Regions from separate parts of the Homo sapiens genome. Here all the other regions are linked to region 1. Evidence: promoter capture Hi-C in 16 types of primary human blood cells and fetal thymus (Javierre and others, 2016). All regions are on one chromosome and are shown on one strand. The core of a region is centred on a gene start or on the middle of the fragment in contact, and the rest is flanking DNA. Distances in the headings are between cores, read along the strand shown. Region 1 holds the start of HDAC11-AS1 (HDAC11 antisense RNA 1). Region 2 overlaps CAND2 (cullin associated and neddylation dissociated 2 (putative)). Region 3 has its middle 9.8 kb from the start of LINC02022. Region 4 overlaps IQSEC1 (IQ motif and Sec7 domain ArfGEF 1). Region 5 overlaps CAND2 (cullin associated and neddylation dissociated 2 (putative)). Region 6 holds the start of RAF1 (Raf-1 proto-oncogene, serine/threonine kinase).

What was found. Contacts are between HindIII fragments. The CHiCAGO score rates a contact against its expected background, and 5 or more counts as called.
Region 2: a fragment that was not itself captured here is called in contact with the fragment with the promoter of HDAC11-AS1 in region 1 in 2 of 17 cell types (neutrophils and total B cells); the score reaches 7.2 in neutrophils.
Region 3: a contact is called between a fragment that was not itself captured here and the fragment with the promoter of HDAC11-AS1 in region 1, in 3 of 17 cell types (naive B cells, total B cells and neutrophils). The highest score is 8.2, in naive B cells.
Region 4: a contact is called between a fragment that was not itself captured here and the fragment with the promoter of HDAC11-AS1 in region 1, in 8 of 17 cell types (fetal thymus, total B cells, naive B cells and 5 more). The highest score is 6.8, in fetal thymus.
Region 5: a contact is called between a fragment that was not itself captured here and the fragment with the promoter of HDAC11-AS1 in region 1, in 4 of 17 cell types (naive B cells, total B cells, fetal thymus and 1 more). The highest score is 8.0, in naive B cells.
Region 6: a contact is called between the fragment with the promoter of RAF1 here and the fragment with the promoter of HDAC11-AS1 in region 1, in 1 of 17 cell types (naive B cells). The highest score is 5.4, in naive B cells.

What each region holds. Positions count from the first base shown.
Region 1 is chr3:13,478,625-13,481,450 of GRCh38, forward strand. HDAC11-AS1 (HDAC11 antisense RNA 1) reads right to left here and starts at 1,429. Exons shown (of 2, transcript NR_046690.1): 1 at 1,019-1,429. HDAC11 (histone deacetylase 11) reads left to right here and starts at 1,682. Exons shown (of 10, transcript NM_024827.4): 1 at 1,682-1,725; 2 at 2,622-2,770. The coding sequence starts at 1,724. RefSeq lists enhancers at 1,038-1,097, 1,747-2,403 and a silencer at 1,558-2,047. The HindIII fragment of the contact is 8,461 bases long and covers 1-2,826 here.
Region 2 is chr3:12,833,984-12,836,683 of GRCh38, forward strand. CAND2 (cullin associated and neddylation dissociated 2 (putative)) reads left to right here. Exons shown (of 15, transcript NM_001162499.2): 15 at 1-820. RPL32 (ribosomal protein L32) reads right to left here. Exons shown (of 4, transcript NM_000994.4): 4 at 502-2,240. The coding sequence ends at 2,111. Among named protein-coding and RNA genes, the nearest start is that of SNORA7A, 5.1 kb to the right of the region's middle. The HindIII fragment of the contact is 762 bases long and covers 1,047-1,808 here.
Region 3 is chr3:12,874,011-12,876,710 of GRCh38, forward strand. It overlaps a transcript of LOC105376956 not described here. Among named protein-coding and RNA genes, the nearest start is that of LINC02022, 9.8 kb to the right of the region's middle. RefSeq lists a silencer at 2,021-2,260 and enhancers at 2,154-2,667, 2,668-2,700. The HindIII fragment of the contact is 2,860 bases long and covers 9-2,700 here.
Region 4 is chr3:12,965,496-12,968,195 of GRCh38, forward strand. All of the region lies in intron 1 of IQSEC1 (IQ motif and Sec7 domain ArfGEF 1), which reads right to left. Among named protein-coding and RNA genes, the nearest start is that of LINC02022, 82 kb to the left of the region's middle. RefSeq lists silencers at 1,959-2,008, 2,119-2,538 and an enhancer at 2,689-2,700. The HindIII fragment of the contact is 2,939 bases long and covers 1-2,700 here.
Region 5 is chr3:12,809,923-12,812,775 of GRCh38, forward strand. CAND2 (cullin associated and neddylation dissociated 2 (putative)) reads left to right here. Exons shown (of 15, transcript NM_001162499.2): 5 at 137-402. Among named protein-coding and RNA genes, the nearest start is that of CAND2, 15 kb to the left of the region's middle. RefSeq lists a silencer at 165-614. The HindIII fragment of the contact is 687 bases long and covers 960-1,646 here.
Region 6 is chr3:12,662,671-12,665,475 of GRCh38, forward strand. It overlaps RAF1 (Raf-1 proto-oncogene, serine/threonine kinase), which reads right to left and starts at 1,447. Exons shown (of 17, transcript NM_002880.4): 1 at 1,143-1,447. RefSeq lists enhancers at 529-1,139, 1,140-1,751, 1,363-1,712, 1,753-1,822 and a silencer at 953-1,172. The HindIII fragment of the contact is 11,087 bases long and covers 97-2,805 here.

The DNA of each region.
Region 1 (2,826 bases), core at 179-2,678:
TTCCTTCTGTGGTTTACATCTGCCCACATCCCTGACCTTTGAGTGAGTTACTTCACCATTCTGTGCCTCAATTTCTTTATCTATAAAATGGGGATGACAATAGTTTGCCTCCTAGGACTGTCAGAAGAGTTCGACAAGCAAAAAGCATTTGGACTTCAACTTAGCACATGACAGATGGTCTCTGAATAATAATCAACATTATTGTCTCTTGATTCCCTGGACTTGCCCATGAAATCCAGAGAATGAAGTGCAACCAGAACTTCATTTTCTTCCTTTTTTTTTTTTTTGAGATGGAGTCTCACTCTTGTCGCCCAGGCTGGATTGCAATGGCGCGGCCTCACCGCAACCTCCCCTCCCCGGTTCAAGCGATTCTCCTGCCCCAGCCTCCCGAGTAGCTGGGATTACAGGCGCCCTTCATCACGCCCAGCTAATTTTTTGTATTTTTAGTAGAGACGGGGTTTCACCATGTTGGTCAGGATGGTCTCGAACTCCTGACCTCAGGTGATTCACCCGCCTCGGCCTCCCAAAGTGCTGGGATTACAGGCGTGAGCCACCGCACCCGGCCCAGTACTTCATTTTCAGATGCAGACATGAAGGACCAGAAGGCTGAAGCAACCTGCCCAAAGCCACTATGCTGGCGGGTGGCCGAGTTTGGGTTTAATCCAGGCCCGAACCTCAGTTCCCTCAAGATAAAGTTGGGGTGATTATGGCACCTTTCTCAGGATTAGGTTGTGAGGCTCAGATGCCATCATGCAATCATGGCAGGCACACGGGGGCCCCTCTTCAAACGTCTGTGCGCTTCCCTTGTGCCCCGCCCTGGCACACAGCCGCCCCCGCGGAGCCCAGGGATCCCAGCCCGGCAGTCCTCCGTCAGCTGCTTCTGTTTGGATGGCGGGGACGGCTGGGCCGACAGAGAGGCCCATTGTCTCCGTCCTCTGGGGCTCTATTGTTGGGGCCTCCTCCTGGGTTGCAGCCCCACGGACAACCCCAGCTGTCGCTTGGGCCTGGCTCAGCTTACCCCGGCGGTGAGGGTGCGGGTCGGGGACGGAGACGCGTGCACCCTGAAGACAGTAACTAGGCCTGCTCTACAGAGGGAAACGCAGGCTCTGAGAGCCTACATGTCTTCGCCGGGAGTGCTTGTCCCGGAGCTGCTCGCAGACTGGGCCGGGGGTGGGCTCGGGTCGGAGAGGTCACGGGGCTCCTTAGGTCACAGGCGGCAGGGCCAGAGAAACTCCCCCGCCCCTACGTTTAACTCGCGGAAACAAGGGCCCAGAGAGCCCAGACGCCAGCCCAAGGTCACACAGCGAAGCCCCGGCACAGCCCGCCGGGAACCTGTCGTTTCTAACCCCCAGCCTCTCGCCGTTTCTACCCAGCTTGGGAAGCGCAGGAACAGGACATACGGTGGTCGCGCCCCTTCCGCGAGGCCGGGGTGAAACCCGCTTGGCCCTCCCGCCAGGGGGCGGAGCTTCCGAACCAGGCGGGATTCCACCGGGTATTTGCCTGCGGAGGCGGGACTTCGGGCTTGATGGGCGTTGGGGGTGGCCTTCCTGCGGGCAGGCTCTCTGTGTCGCAACACTGGCGGGGCGGGCCAAATCGGCCAGAGCTCTGCCCCCAGAGGACGCGGCTAAGCCCGGGGGCGTGTCCTGGGCTGGCCCCACCCGCGCCCCGCCCCGCCCCGCCCGGTCGCGGAGCTGCGGCCAGCTTTGGGAGGGCCGGCCCCGGGATGTGAGTGCCGCGGGGCGAGGGCGGGGGTGGGCTCCCAGGGGTCCCGGTGGGCGGGCGCGCTAGGGCGAGGGCGGGGACGGCCGGGCGGGCGCGCCAGGTAAGGGCCCAGATTTGCTGGTGAGGGGTGAGGGACGCTCGGGACGGGTGTTTCCAGGCCCTCCCGGCGCGCCAGGCCAGCCCCGCGCCCCTGCTCGGTGGCCCGAGGGACGCGCGCCGGCCGCGGGCCTGGGCCCGGACCCGGAGCGGTCGGGCGATGTGCGCGGGTCTGACGTCTGCGCTGCCCAGCCCCCTGGCTACGCGGACGCCCCCACGGAGGCAGCCACTGGGGCGGATTTCTGTCTCTGGGTGACGACTGCCAGGGTGTGATGGGAAGGGTTAGCAGCGCAGCGGGGTCAGGGGATCCCCGCCCCCCGCCCTGGCTCAGGTTGGGTCCCGACTTGGGTTTCTGAGTGCTTACTGTGCTCAGCTCCTCAGTTGCATTCTCTGAGTCCTCACAACAGCCACACATTTTGCAGCCGAAGCCTTGTGCCACACAGCTGTGGGGGCATTTATTACGGTGCAGAGGTGATGCGCGGAGGCCTTGCAGCCAGACACACCTGAGTGCACGCCTGCTTCTCCACAGACCTGCACTGTGACCTTGGGCACACCTGGTCTGCTCTCTGAGCCTCTGGTGCGATTGTGGTGCCTACCCCCAGGGCTGCTGTGAGGACTGGATTGGAATTGGGTTCCGGGAAAGGCAGCCAGTTTAAGCAGCTGTTGTTGAGGGGCCCTTGTCTGCGGCTGAGGGGCTAGTGGTGCTGGGCAATGGCTGGTGGGTCAGTCCAGGCGGGCTCGGGAGGGAGCTGCTTTCTGCCGAGGCTGCCCCAGCTGTGCGTCTGTCTTTTTCCACACGGTAGGCTACACACAACCCAGCTGTACCAGCATGTGCCAGAGACACGCTGGCCAATCGTGTACTCGCCGCGCTACAACATCACCTTCATGGGCCTGGAGAAGCTGCATCCCTTTGATGCCGGAAAATGGGGCAAAGTGATCAATTTCCTAAAAGGTATGGAAGGTCCCCCTTGGACTCTCATCTGCTTCCTCCAACCCACCTGTCCTCTC
Region 2 (2,700 bases), core at 178-2,677, 640 kb before region 1:
CCCCTCAGCACCAAGGTGGGCCCTCGCTTAAGAGAAAGGAGCCCACCCAAGTCCGAGGCCTCCCCATCCCACCATCGCAGGTCTCTACTTTTGCCCTTCCACCATCTCACTGGGGGCCCTGTCGCTCCTGGTCAGGGCTTACAGTGCCTTCTCCAGGGACCCAACTCAAAGGCCCCCAGCCCAAGCTGTGAGGCTGCCAACAGTTGGGCCCCTTCCTTAACTCAGGACAGTCATCCAAAGAAATAGGGTGAGGAAGTTTTCCAGTGACTTCACACTGTACCCCTCCATAGTCTGTCTGGTTCCTTCAGAGGGTGTCTCTGCCTCACAAACTAGTAGTATTTAGAAATAGGCTGTGCTGTCAGCTGTAAAAGATCAGGAGGCAGCAGACACCACTCTGGTTTCTTCACTGCATTCAGCAATGCCTGAAGTTAGTGCTCAGGCCGGGCATCTCAAAAGAAAAGATACTTGAGTTATTCACATTTTAAAATTCAAAACGGTTCATTTTTAAGTGGCAGTGATGAATCAGAAATTTGGAAGATGATACGGGTTTCTTTTTTCCAGGGAGGAGGAATGGGTTGGGTAGGGAACTGGACAGGCTTGGACCTCATGTTTCATTTCTAATTTCAAAATACTTATTAGCAAATTGGGCAACAATGGGCATCTTCCATGCCACCACCCAGGCATAACCAGTTGGTTTGTTTCCTTCTGAGGAAGGTTTCAAATGTGTCTAGTGTTCAGTATTGAGGACAAAGAAATACAAGTGGCAGGCCCAAGTATTTTCTGTGATATCCCAGGTTAATAAAGATTAGATTCTAAGTTACTTCTTTCCTCTGCACGACTCGTCTCCAATTGTTAATCGAATCGCCTGAACCCAGGAGGCAGAAGTTGCAGGGAGCCAAGATCAAGCCACTGCACTCCAGCCGGGGTGACAGAATGAGTCTCAAAAACAAAATCCCAAAAATGACCAGTTTGCATTATAAATATTTATGACTAGGTTTTGAACAGGAGACAATCTGTAAGATTCCTGTCTAGACTAGAAGTAGAAAAGCTTTATTATACCCAGCGCAGCATTTCTGCTAAGTTGACCAGGATGGTTACAGAAAAACATCCTGTAAGCATTTCTGTCTCATAAGTACCACATCCCATATCCCTCATGACCTATATACTACAGAAGATGCCTGTAATCCCAGTACTTTGGGAGGCTGAAGCAGGATTGCTTGAGCTCAGGAGTTCGGGAGCCTAGGCAACATGGCTAGACCACCTCTACAAAAAAACTTCAAAAACTACCCAGGTTTGGAGGTGTGCATCTGTAGTCCCAGCTACTTGGAAGGCTGAGGTGGGAAGATCACCTGAGCCTGGGGAGGTCAAGGCTGTAGTCAGTGTGCCACTGCACTCCCAGCCTGGGTGAGAGCAAGACCCCGTCTCCAAAAAAAATCAGGACCACGTGTCACTAAATTCTGAGTACCAGTCAAGAGGCTCAATTGTCACCAGTTAGGTCCCCGCCTTGGCAAACTGCTGTAACATTATACCTGAAGCAGCAGCTGGTGGGAGGGTTATAGGAGACTGAAAGTGCTTTTCCAGTTAACCGTGGTGGATTACCTGGAAGAGCAATTTGTACATCATCCTGTTCTTTTTGGACAGAAGTTACAGGATGCAATTTAGGCATCCCGTAAGAATCTGTGTAAGAAATTCATCTGGATATTTCCATGCATATTTTCTCAATTCTCACAAGCATCACATGGAATAACTTGTCACCTAACTTTACAAAAGCAAGGCTAAGAATGACTACTTGTGGCTTGGGAGCCACAAGCTTCTTCAAGTGTCTCAGAACCTACCTGGTGTGAGGGCCAAGTCTGTACCCCTCATACCCAGCCTCAACTGGAGATGACTAAGGCTAGTCTGTGCACTTGAGGCCACATTCCCCTGTTCAAGGACTGAGTGTCCTTTACAAATCCCCTCCAAATGGGAGATTCCAAAGGGGCTTAAGCAAAAGAACAATCTCTGTGGCAAACTAAGTTGGCCAAGAAGCTGAAGACTTAAAATCAAGGAAGGAAGATGCCAGATGGCAGTTTTTACATTTATTTAAACAGAAAACGTGCACATGAGCTGCCTACTCATTTTCTTCACTGCGCAGCCTGGCATTGGGGTTGGTGACTCTGATGGCCAGTTGGGCAGCTCTTTCCACGATGGCTTTGCGGTTCTTGGAGGAAACATTGTGAGCGATCTCGGCACAGTAAGATCTGCAAGAGAATCAAGTAGGTAAGGAGCAAGACAGCCCTCAACACACTTGGAAAATTCCATTGGAGAGGCAATGAGTCCCAGCACCAAGCTAAGAGAGGGCTGCTTGGTAAGTGGCTGTGGAATGACACCTACATGCCCCCAAATCCTGACTATGGTTCCCTGGTGGTGACAAGAATGCTTTCATTAAAAAGTACCCTCATTGTCCCCTCTCATCCTTATAGCAGCCTTGTAATCCAGGCATTACCTCCATTTTACAGATAAAGAAACCAAGGCCCACAGCAAGCAATGGACAGGGATCCGGGGCGAACCCAGGCCCACACTCCAGGTTCAAAGGTTCTCCCCCAGTCACAGGGTGCTTGACCTTGCCCATGAAGGTTCAGAACTCTTTGCAAAATGGTCAAGAGCAGAACCCAAGAGTCTGAATGGAGCCAAGAGCACCTGGTTTGACTGCTGAGGATA
Region 3 (2,700 bases), core at 189-2,688, 600 kb before region 1:
ACTCACTAAGCTTATTTCCTCATCCAATCTTGGGGATCCTGAGCTCCCTACTTGGCAAGCCTCATGGGTTCACAGCTACCTCCAAGGGTTTCCTTCGCAAACTCAAATCAGACTGCTCCTTACTTGCCAGCACCTATTACTAAAGAAGGGGGAGCAGAAAGAATTGGGGTGTCATAGTGACAGTGGTAAGGAGAAGGCAAAGAGTTTTCCACTTCTGGCGATGGTAGCGGTGGCAGCCACCTGGCCCAGGGCACCATCTCTTTTCTCCTGTCTGTACCCTGCTTCCTCTGCCCTGCCACTTCCCCCTTCCTCCCCACTCCGCTCACTGCAGTCTTCTCTCCATCTTTCCAAGGTAGATGCAGCTTGCTGCTCTCCTGATGCCCCAACTAAGGCTATGGCTTCTGGTGCCTGCTGACCTCTTGGACTTTATTTCCCTGGCCCCTCCCCCACCTCCTTTCTGTTTGTCCCAGCCCCACGCCCAACTCCCTCTCCCCCAGCTCGTCCTTTGCCATTCATAATCCCCCCATCTTCATTCCTCTTCTAGGTTTTCTCTGGCTAAATTTTCTTTTATACACTTGCTAATATCTGTCTCCTTTTCCCTAGACTTCCTGTGCAACACGGAATGATGAAAATCTAGACACAGGAATCTCACTCCCAGCCTAGCCAGGACCCAGGTTTTGTGAAGGGGTGTGGGGCGGGAGAAAAAGCAAACCCCACCAAACCAACACCCAGTCTAGAGCCTGATCTAAGTGCCACTCAAAACACGTTTCCTCCCTTTACTTTCCTATATCCTGATAATTCTTCCTGAAAAAGGTGGCCCCTGGGAACTGTCTAAAAGCATCATGGGATGGAAGGGCAAGGGTCCTGAGAGTTGGTCTTGCCATCCCTTTGTTTCCAGTTTTCTTGAAGAAGTCGAGCTCCAGAGAAGAGGTGGGGCCTGTGGGGCATTTTGATTACACTCCAAGTCTAATTCCCAGTCCAGCAATCCTGCCCCCAGAGGCTCCCTTCATCTGTCCACTTGGCCAAGGAAGGGGCGGGTTGGCCCACGACCCCTGCCTGGCTGCAGACAACATCAGAAGGGTGTCCATGTAGTGGGGGCCCCAGAACAATGTCTGCATGGAAAGGGTCCAAGGAGCTGGAGCCCTTTAGCCTCAAGAAGAGCATGAGGCACCCAGCACCCTTCTGAAACCTAAACCAAATTCTGGCCTGAGCCATTTTCACCGTCTGTGCCCTAGAAGGTTGTGAGGCCTCGAAGTGGGTCTTCCTGTTTCCCTGTCTTCTGAGGCCCAGGCCTTTCTCAGAGCCTCCATGGGTCCCACCCCTGTACCCATCACATGGTGTCTGGGCCCTGCCTGCCTGGCTCACACCCCTCACCCTGCTGCCCTATTTCCATCCCTGAAACAGTCCACTGGACACTGCCATTCCCTCTCTTAAAATACTTTCACAGGCCCTGACCGTCCCTTGGTCAATCTAGTGAATGTCACCCCCTCAAAGAAACCCTCCCTGAGCACCCCATCCGCAGTAGGGTCACCCCCATCTTCCACCTTCACTTTTCCTGGTGTCTCCTTCCTAGCCCCTATCTCTATGGGAGTTTTCTTCAGATAGACTAGACTCCCTCGCCCACCCGGGGGGGCCAGCGGGTCTGTCTTCTCTGTCCCTGCACACCAGAGATGATCAATGATCAGTTGCTGACATCAATGAAACAGGAAGGCCCCAGAGGTGCTGGGAGCCGTTCACTGCAGGTGAGAAGGAACCTTGAGGAAGTGGAGAGGACCCGAGTTAGTGTCCTCTCCCCACCCGAAGGGTCAGCTCCTGGCAGCTCTGCGACTCTGTGGCTTGGGGCGCCTCTCCCCTGTGCCCTTGACGGGTGGCCTGCAGGGGACGCGGCCGCACTCGGTCGGCTGTGGTCCTGCAGCAGCCGCGTCCGGGCGAGCGGCACTTAGGAAAGACAAACTCCAAAACCCAGGGCTCCAAAGGACCCATGGGAAGGTCGGGAGGCTCAGGAGAGTGACCCCGCGTCTGGGCCAGCGCTTTGAGGACCCTGTGGACCCAGCGGAGAGGGCCCGGGTGAGGGCTCTGGAGGCGCTGAGCAGGGCCGGGAGCCACGGGACCCGCAGAGGGCGCCCGTCCGCGTGGGGGCAGCAGCGTCTGGAGGGAGGTGGCCCCGGCCGCCCTCAGAAATCAGGCTCAGCCCGGGGGTCCCTGGCTCCGCCTCCCAGGCCGGGCTCTCTTTGCCCAGGCTGGGCGGGGCTGATGGCCGTTGGAAGCCCCGCCCCCCGCCGCTCACCACCTTGTGGCCCCGCTTCCGTCTCCATGGAGACCCGATGCAGCTGGACAGCCTGTCAGCGGCTGCTCTGGAGCCTGGGGCCTGCTCCGTGCGCCCTGTCTGCCCTCCGCGGGCCGTGCTGTCCAGGCTGGCCCGACAGCCTGACTCGAGACACCGGGATGCCTGTCCACGCCTCCACTCCCGGGCCACTTCCCCGTGGGGCGGGCAGTGGGGCAGGGCGGGGTGGGAATCTGCTGCAACCAGGGAAGGGAATTGCCCCCCGGGCACAGAGAGTTTGGAGCCTGGGGTACTGTCACCAACAGCCCAGGACCCCGCAGCTGGGCCCTCCCCTAGAGTCTTCCTGCAGCAGGGCTCTCCTCCCGAAGGGCTGTGAATGTTCCTCGGAGGTGGGGCTAAGCTAGAGCCCAGAGGTT
Region 4 (2,700 bases), core at 190-2,689, 510 kb before region 1:
CCAGAGCAAATGGGATCCACCTGCTCTGAGGCTGATGCGTGAACTATGGGCTACACCTGAGCGAGGCTTCTCAACCTCCAAGACCTCTGCCTCATGTTCTGAGACTGGGGGAGCAGCTGTTCATCACCAACCCAGACCACAGAAGGATCCAAGCAGGCTTCCCTGAAGCTGGAAGATTGAGATGAGATGCCCGGAGGGACTTCTAATGAGAAGGGATGTGGGACTGAGAAGTATGCAAGAGAGGTGGCCTGGACATGTCAACTGGAATGGTCCTAATGGAGGGGCAGAAACCCCTCCCCAGTTACTTTCAGCTCAGAGGGAGGCGGGAGGTGCAGCCAGGAGAGCACGCTAATGGTTTCTTGTTCCCCACTAGACTGCTGGTTCCATGAGGACAAAGACTCCATGTTTTGTTCACTGCTGTGTCTCTGGTGCCTAGAGCAGGGACTGGTACATAGCAGGCACTCAATAAACCACAGAGCTTTAGTACTGACAAGACTGAATGCTCAGCCTCGATTTGCTCTCCTGCAATATGAGGATGCTGGTACCACAAGGGTAAGAAGCAATTGTAATACCAGGTGGGACAGCTGATGGACTATGAGGGCCGCGGGTGTGTGTGGGATATGAATAACATGACCCCCATGTCCAGACTGCTGCCACTGATTCCAGACAGATGGTCTTGCAGCTGCAGCATGCCTGGCCTCCACCCCAGATGCAAGGAGCAATGGGGTCCTTGAGAAGCCCCCCAACCCCACTTGGAGGCTCAGGCTCAGCGCTCCAGGCCTCTGGGGTGAGGAAGGGGCAGAGGGAGACATATGCATGTTCTCAGTGCAACTGCTGGACATGCGCTGCACAATTTTTGAACTGAAAGATCAAACAGCTCCAGGTGGGCTTCCTCCAGAGGGGGCCTGACATAAGCCAAGTCAGCTTGTCAACAAATCCCCTTAGCCCCACCCCCCTGCTCCTCAGAAGGGCCTGCAGATAGCTCAGGGGGCAGCTGTGCTGGCCATCGCAGAGAGGAAATCAATATTCCCAGCACATACACACACACTCCCTTTCTCCCTTTCTCTCCATAAACACGGGCCCTTGGAAGCTCAGACAGCCGCCCACAGGCCCCTAAGTAGAAAAGGGTTGGCCCCTCTGACACACCAGACTCCATCCCTGACCACACCAGGTGCACACGCATCACCACACAAAGCCCCTCACATCCACACTCTGCCACAAACAGCAGCCACACACCCCAGTGCACCCCCAAGTGGCCCTGCCAGGGGCAGAGTACCCGACAGAAGCTGCTGACACACCTGGGACGCCTGTTTGTTCAGGGTCATCCACCCTCACACACACTTGGGGTCTTGCAGACAGGACAGACACATCAATCCAGACATAGGCCCAATGTCTGGAATAGACAGGCCTGCAAGAGGCCTTCCTGGCAGCTCCGGCCCTGCCTGCAGTTGGAAACAGGCACAGACCCGCTGGGCACCCTCCCACCAACTCTCCGCTCTCCCTCCTGCCCCTCACCTCACACCCACACCGAGTCCCACTGTTTCCCTCTCAAGCCCCCAAACTCAAACTCACCCCCACACCAACTTGCACTCCAACAGGCCCTCGATCACACACACACACTCCCATCCTGAGACCCTCCCAGGGCACACACAGCGCTCCTGTCCCAAGGGCGCGTCTCTCTCTCCCACGCACAAACTCGGGTCCTGTTTGCTCTTCTCTCACCCAAACCCACAGTCTGGCGGACGCACCCCGCCCCGCAGGCAGCTTTCTCTCGCACGCCGGGCGCCCGGTCCCGACGGTCACCCGCACTCCCGCACAGGCATCCCCACAGCCTGCGCCAGCCCACCGCTCAGCACCCGGGAAGGCCGCTCGCCCCGCGCCGCGCCCTCACCCGCTGTCAAGCTCTAGCTCCAGAAGGGACTGGGTCCTCTCCGAGTTGCAGTGCAGGCACCACATGGCGGCCGCAGTGGGAGCGGGCCGGGCCGGGAGCCGGGACCCAGGCCCAGCAGAGGCCGCCGACTCCCGCCAGCGAGCCGCCGGATCCCGGGGCCGACACCCGGCCACCCGGAGACCCGACCACCCGCCACGCGATCACGTCGGGGCTCCTGGTCCAGCGTCCGCCGGCTCCCGCGGCTCCGGCCCCAAGTCCGAGCCCCAGGCCAGCCAAGCCCGCCCCTCCGCCGCCGCCCGCTTGGCGCAGCGCGAGGCCGGGCCGGAGGAATGTGGCCCTGAAGTGGGCGGGGCAGGGCGGGGGCGGGGCCGGAGGGCGAGCTGGGGGCGGGGCCGGAGGGCGAGCTGGGGGCGGGGCTGCGCGCGGGGGCGAGACTGCACGGAGCGTGTGGGGAAGAGAGCACAGGAGGCGTGGCCACACGGCGCCGCGGAAGAAGCACAGGGGGCGGGGGGTCAGGGGCGGGGCGTCAGGGGCGGGGCTACGCGCAGGGGCGGGGCCGAGCCGAGGCGCGGGGTGCAGAGCGCAAGGGCGGAGTCCCAGACACTGCATCCAGGTCCCAGCGCGCGAAGCCTCTGTTCTGGAAGGAGGACTTTGCGCAGCCCCTCCAACACTGGCGCCTCCCGGGAGCCATGTCTTCCTCTCCAGCGTGTAACCACAACAAATGCACAGCGCCAAACCCCCAACCAGAGCCTACTCCGCTGATGCCTACTCAACATCTGCCTATCCCGATTTTGCCTTCAGTTTATAAA
Region 5 (2,853 bases), core at 53-2,552, 670 kb before region 1:
GGGCACCTCTTTTGCAAGGGCCATTGAGTTGCCATAATCCTGGGAAGGAGGCCGGGAGAGAATGGGGAGAGGGGCGGAGCCTGGCCCAGGTTGCCCGCGGAGTGCGATCGGCCTGATGCCCCCTCGTGCTCCCCAGGCTGGGTGTCCCGCTGGGCGCCTTCCACGCCAGCCTCCTGCACTGTCTGCTGCCACAGCTGAGCAGCCCGCGCCTGGCGGTGCGCAAGCGGGCGGTCGGAGCGCTTGGCCACCTGGCGGCCGCCTGCAGCACCGACCTCTTCGTCGAGCTCGCTGACCACCTACTGGACCGGCTGCCCGGCCCGCGGGTGCCCACCAGCCCGACTGCCATCCGCACCCTGATCCAATGTTTGGGCAGCGTCGGCCGCCAGGCCGGCCACCGCCTCGGTAAGGGGGCAGGGGGCGGGGCCTGGGCTGGCATGGTGGGCGGAGCTTAGGGTGAGCCAATGACTCGGTAAAGGGGCGGAGCTTGGGCCGCAGTGCAGCCAGGGCCTAAGGGTGGGCCGTCTGCCTTGGTAGGGAGGATGGGGCGGGGCCTGGGCTGATGTGGTGGGTGGGGCCTGGGGCGGGCGGCTGAAGCCCCTGAAACGCAGAGGTTGGGGCCGGATAGGGCTTGAGAGGCGCAGGGCGGGCCCTGAGCTCGACAAACCCCCAGGCCTGAGCCCCTGCTGAGTGCAGACGGTTCAGAGAAGGGGGTTGGTTCAATCACTTATGAGACGTGGAGGCTGGCTGGTAATTACAATTTTAAGTCATGCCACTAAACTGTTAGACTATGTTCTCTTCTCCCAGTTTGACAAAGATATCTTAGTAACAGCCCATGAGCCAAGTTTGAATTTTTAAGAAACAATTTAATGTGCATACAATAAACCGCACTATTTAAAGTGTGCAATTCAGTGTGTTTTGACCTTTGTGTATATCCGTGAAACCTTTCCATCACCCCCAAAAGCTTCCTTGTGTCCGTTTGCAGTCCAGCTCTCTGCCTTGTCCAGGAAGCCACTGATCTGCTTTCTGTCACTATAGATTAGTTTTTTAGAAATGGAAAGCTGCAATCAGGTTTGAATGTATCCTCAGACACCTTGGAGTTCTGACTATACCAAGACAGTTTGGATAGAACTGGCATATGGTCAGCCCCTCCCAACCCCTGGCTCTCTCACTGCAAGGGGCCTTGCAGGCACACGGCGGGGGGTGGGGGGGGGAACCCCAGCTGACATGGCCACACCCTGTCCCATTTCTCCCAAACAGCAGCCAGCCCTCAGCCATCCTTGGTTGCATGGACCTAGGAAAGAGGCCTGCGCAGGCTCGGACAAGGGGTCAGGATCCATTGGGCAGGAAACTCGGGTCCCCAGATACCCAGACAGAATGGAGTCTAGGAGTGTTGGGGGTCTCTAGGTCAGCATGTCTCTTCTTATGCTGTAGGGAAGGGTATGGCTGGAGAAGGGCTTGAGTGGAGTGCTCTAAAGCCTGGAGACCAGGCAGGAACCCCTCTTGCCTGGTCTATTAGGGCAGTACCTGCCTCCCTTTCTCCTATCCAAGGACTTAAACCTAGTGAAGGAAATTAGGCCAGGACATGAATAATGGTTTTGATAACAGATGCTATTTATCGAGTGCCTGCTCGTGTAGAACCTGGACTAAGCTTTTTTATTTATTTTTTTGAGACGGAGTCTCGCTCTGTTGCCCAGGCTGGAGTGCAATGGTGCAGTCTCGGCTCACCGCAACCTCCGCCTCCCGGATTCAAGTGATTCTCCTGTCTCAGCCTCCTGAGTAGCTGGCACTACAGGCGCACGCTACCATACCCAGCTAATTTTTGTATTTTTAGTAGAGACGGGGTTTAACTATGTTGGTTGGCCAGGTTGGTCTTGAACCCCTGACCTTGTGATCCCATGATCTGCCCGCCTCGGCCTCCCAAAGTGCTGGGATTACAGGGGTGAGCCACTGCACCCAACCTTGGACTAAGCTTTTTTAACTTCTTTTTTTTTTTTCTTTTTGAGACTGAGTCTCGTGTCTTGCTCTGTTTCCCAGGCTGGAGTGTAGTGGCACGATCTCTGCTCACTGTAACCTCCACCTCCCAGGTTCAAGCAATTCTGCCTCAGCCTCCCAAGTAGCTGGGATTACAGGGGCGCACTGCCACGTGCAGCTAATTTTTGTATTTTTAGTAGAGATGGAGTTTCACCATGTTGGCCAAGCTGGTCTCGAACTCCTGACCTCAGATGATCCATCTGCCTTGGCCTCCCAAAGTGCTGGGATTACAGGTGTGAGCCACCATGCCCGGCCTAAGCTGTTTATCTTTTTTTTTTTTTTTTTTTGGAGATAGAATCTCGCTCTGTCCCCCAGGCTGGAGTACGGTGACGCTATCTTGTCTCACTGCAACCTCCACCTCCCAGGTTCAAGCAATTCTCCTGCCTCAGCCTCCTGAATAGCTGGGACTACAGGTGTGTGCCACCGTGCCCGGCTAATTTTTTTTTTTTTTTTTTTTTTTTTGAGACGGAGTCTCGCTCTGTCGCCCAGGCCAGACTGCGGACTGCAGTGGCGCAATCTCGGCTCACTGCAAGCTCCGCTTCCCGGGTTCACGCCATTCTCCTGCCTCAGCCTCCTGAGTAGCTGGGACTACAGGCGCCCGCCACCGCGCCCGGCTAATTTTTTGTATTTTTAGTAGAGACGGGGTTTCACCTTGTTAGCCAGGATAGTCTCGATCTCCTGACCTCATGATCCACCCGCCTCGGCCTCCCATAGTGCTGGGATTACAGGCGCGCCTGGCCTAAGCTATTTATCATTATATAATTTATCTTCACAAAATCTCTGCCCAGGAGGCACTGTTATCCTTGTTGTGAAGATTAGCTG
Region 6 (2,805 bases), core at 197-2,696, 820 kb before region 1:
CCTTTGTACCAGCTGTTCCCTGAGCTCCTCCTCACCCGATGAGCACTTACTCACAGGTGTTTCAAAACTCGACTCAGAAGTCTCCTCGAGTGTAGAAGCTTCCTCAACTCCTCCCCAAGCAAAACTAACTGTTCTAAATCCCCATAACACTTGATAAGCCAATTCTTATCACACTGCATTGTTTTCACGCCTTAGGAGCGCAGGGAGGGCAGAGTCTCTCCACTCAGCCCACAGAGGACCAGGCAAGCAGAAACGCTCAATGAACGTGCCTTGAATTCATTTTCCACTTAGATTAAGTGACCCCCTAGAACCCGTTCACATCTCAAGGATACACTAAGTTCCATTCCTTCTTCCCACCACAGAATGAATACCAGGGGCACACCCAGAGCCCTAGAACGAGAACAATGAATGAACACGGCCGCCTCGCCTCTCACGACGTCCAAACCCCTCTCTCTTGGGCATCGACTCGCTCGCAGAGCCTCAGCAGCTGCAGAGCTGAAGCGTCCCGGCGGCTCTCGCGTCACACAAAAGACAGCCCTGGCTCTTCATTCCAAAGCGTCCTGAGGCCAATCCTCTATAAGTATCCCAAACCTTTCATTAATAACCCAGAGTCCTGATACCCAAGGCTAGTCCTGATACCCAAGAAGAGGCCCCTGTGCCTTTGTGGTAGGGCACTGGCCAGTTTCCTCCTCTCTTACCCGATTCCTCACGTCGTCTCTAAAAGGGTGTCACTTGACTGAAGTACCCTGAGAAAGGGTGCAAGCCCGGGTCCCACATTCGGCGGCCCAAGAGAAAAGGAATTGGCCCATCCAAGTGACAACAGATATGGGGCAGCTCTGGGCGGATTTTCCCACTGCCAAATATGAGGAATGCGCATGGCATAAGGGTGGCGTTGGCACGTTTCCGCCAAACACAAGGAAATTTGAGTGGGATGTGGGAACTCGGCTCGCCGGCCATGACACCGGACTCCGGGGCCCCCGCCCAACGCTACCCCAGGGTGACAACGGCCTGGCCCAAGCCCTCTGCCCGGCAGCCGCGGGGCCGCTCCATCAGCGCCACCCAGGCCCGGTCGCCCTGGAAGCCGATCCCTCAGCCCCGCCGCCCGGCTCCCCCGGCATCCACGACCCGGTCCTGCCACCTACCTGAGGGAGCCAGGCCGCCCCAACGTCCTGTCGTTCGGCGGCAGCTTCTCGCCCGCTCCTCCTCCCCGCGGCGGGTGAGGGAGCGGGAGGCGGTCACATTCGGCGCGTCCCCAGCCCAGGGGACGGAGCCCCGAGCAGCCCCCGCATCGTAGCAAACGCGCTCCGCGCCTCAGGGCACGCGCCCCAAAGCCCGGCCAGCTGACCCTTTTCGGGGCCCAAAAAAGGCAGCAGAAAGCCGTTCCCGCCTCACAATCGTTTTCCTCTTACTCCCGCCATCTAAGATGGCGGCCCAAGCGCCCGCGATTAAGACTCTCGGGCGGCCCAGACGAGCGAGCCCTCGACTCGGTGCTCGTCCTCCCGACCTGCGACGCCACCGGCTCTCCGATTCTGCGCGAGCCCTACTGGCAGTCGACTTCTAACTTGGCTCGGGCATCCATCGCTCTGGCCTGAACTCAGGCCCCGCCCCCGGGGCGTGGCCTAGCGATCTGGTGGCCGCCATTTCGAAGCTGAAGAGGTTAGGCGACGCTGACTTGCTTTCAGGAGAGGCACTCGGTAATCGAGAAGAACCGGCTTTCGGCCAGCCAGGAGTGGCCAGAGGCCTAGAAGGGGAGAGGAAGGCCTGCCTGCCCAGCATTGCAAGGCCCAGCGATCACCAGACGTGCCTCAGGACACAGGGCACAGTGTCCAACTTTGACGCGTCCTCTCCGGGCACTTTAATACCAAATCACGGCTCCGCCACTTGACAGCTATGTGGACAGTCCCTGAACCTTAAACGGTCTTTTCCTTGTGTGTAAATTCCGAGTTCATTTTTCCCCCATCACATTAGCAACAAGTTAAAAAAACTGATAATATCCGGTTTGGTCCAAGGTATATTGAAACCTGTTGTGTGCCCTCGCAGCGCTATCACAGTGGAACTTGGACATGTTAAAAGTATATATCCTTCCTCCCGGCAGTTTCACTTCTAGACACTAATTCTAGAGAAATAAGTATACACATACACAAAAAGCTATGTGTGAAGATATTTAATGCCATATTATTTGCATTCTGGAGAAACACTGGGGATGAAATGAAGATTAATAGGAAACTGGTTAAGAGAACGCTGCTACACATCCAATCTGGGTTGTCATCCATCCAAGAATGAACTAGATAGTTACTGAATTTAAAAAACAACAAAAAAAGGGCCCGGCGCTTTTTTTGGGATTACTCCTGTAATCCCAGCACTTTGGAAGGCCGAGGCAGGCGGATCACCTGAGGTCGGGAGTTCGAGACCAGCCTGACCAACATGGAGAAACCCCGTCTCTACTAAAAATACAAAAATTAGCCGGGCGTGGTGGCGGGCGCCTGTAATCCCAGCTACTCAGGAGGCTGAGACAGGAGAATCGCTTGAACCCGGGAGGCAGAGGTTGCAGTGAGCCCAGATCGCACCATTACACTCCAGCCTGGGCGACAGAGCGAGACTCCGTCTCGAAAAAATAAATAAATATAAAAAAATAAAAATACCAAATTAGCTGGGCATGGTGGTGCATGCCTGTCATCCCATCTACTCGGGAGGCTAAGGCAGGAGAATTGCTTGTACCCAGGAGGCGGAGATTGCGGTGAGCCGAAATCGCGTCATTGCACTCCAGCCTGGGCAACAAGAGCGAAACTCTTGTCTCAAAAAAAA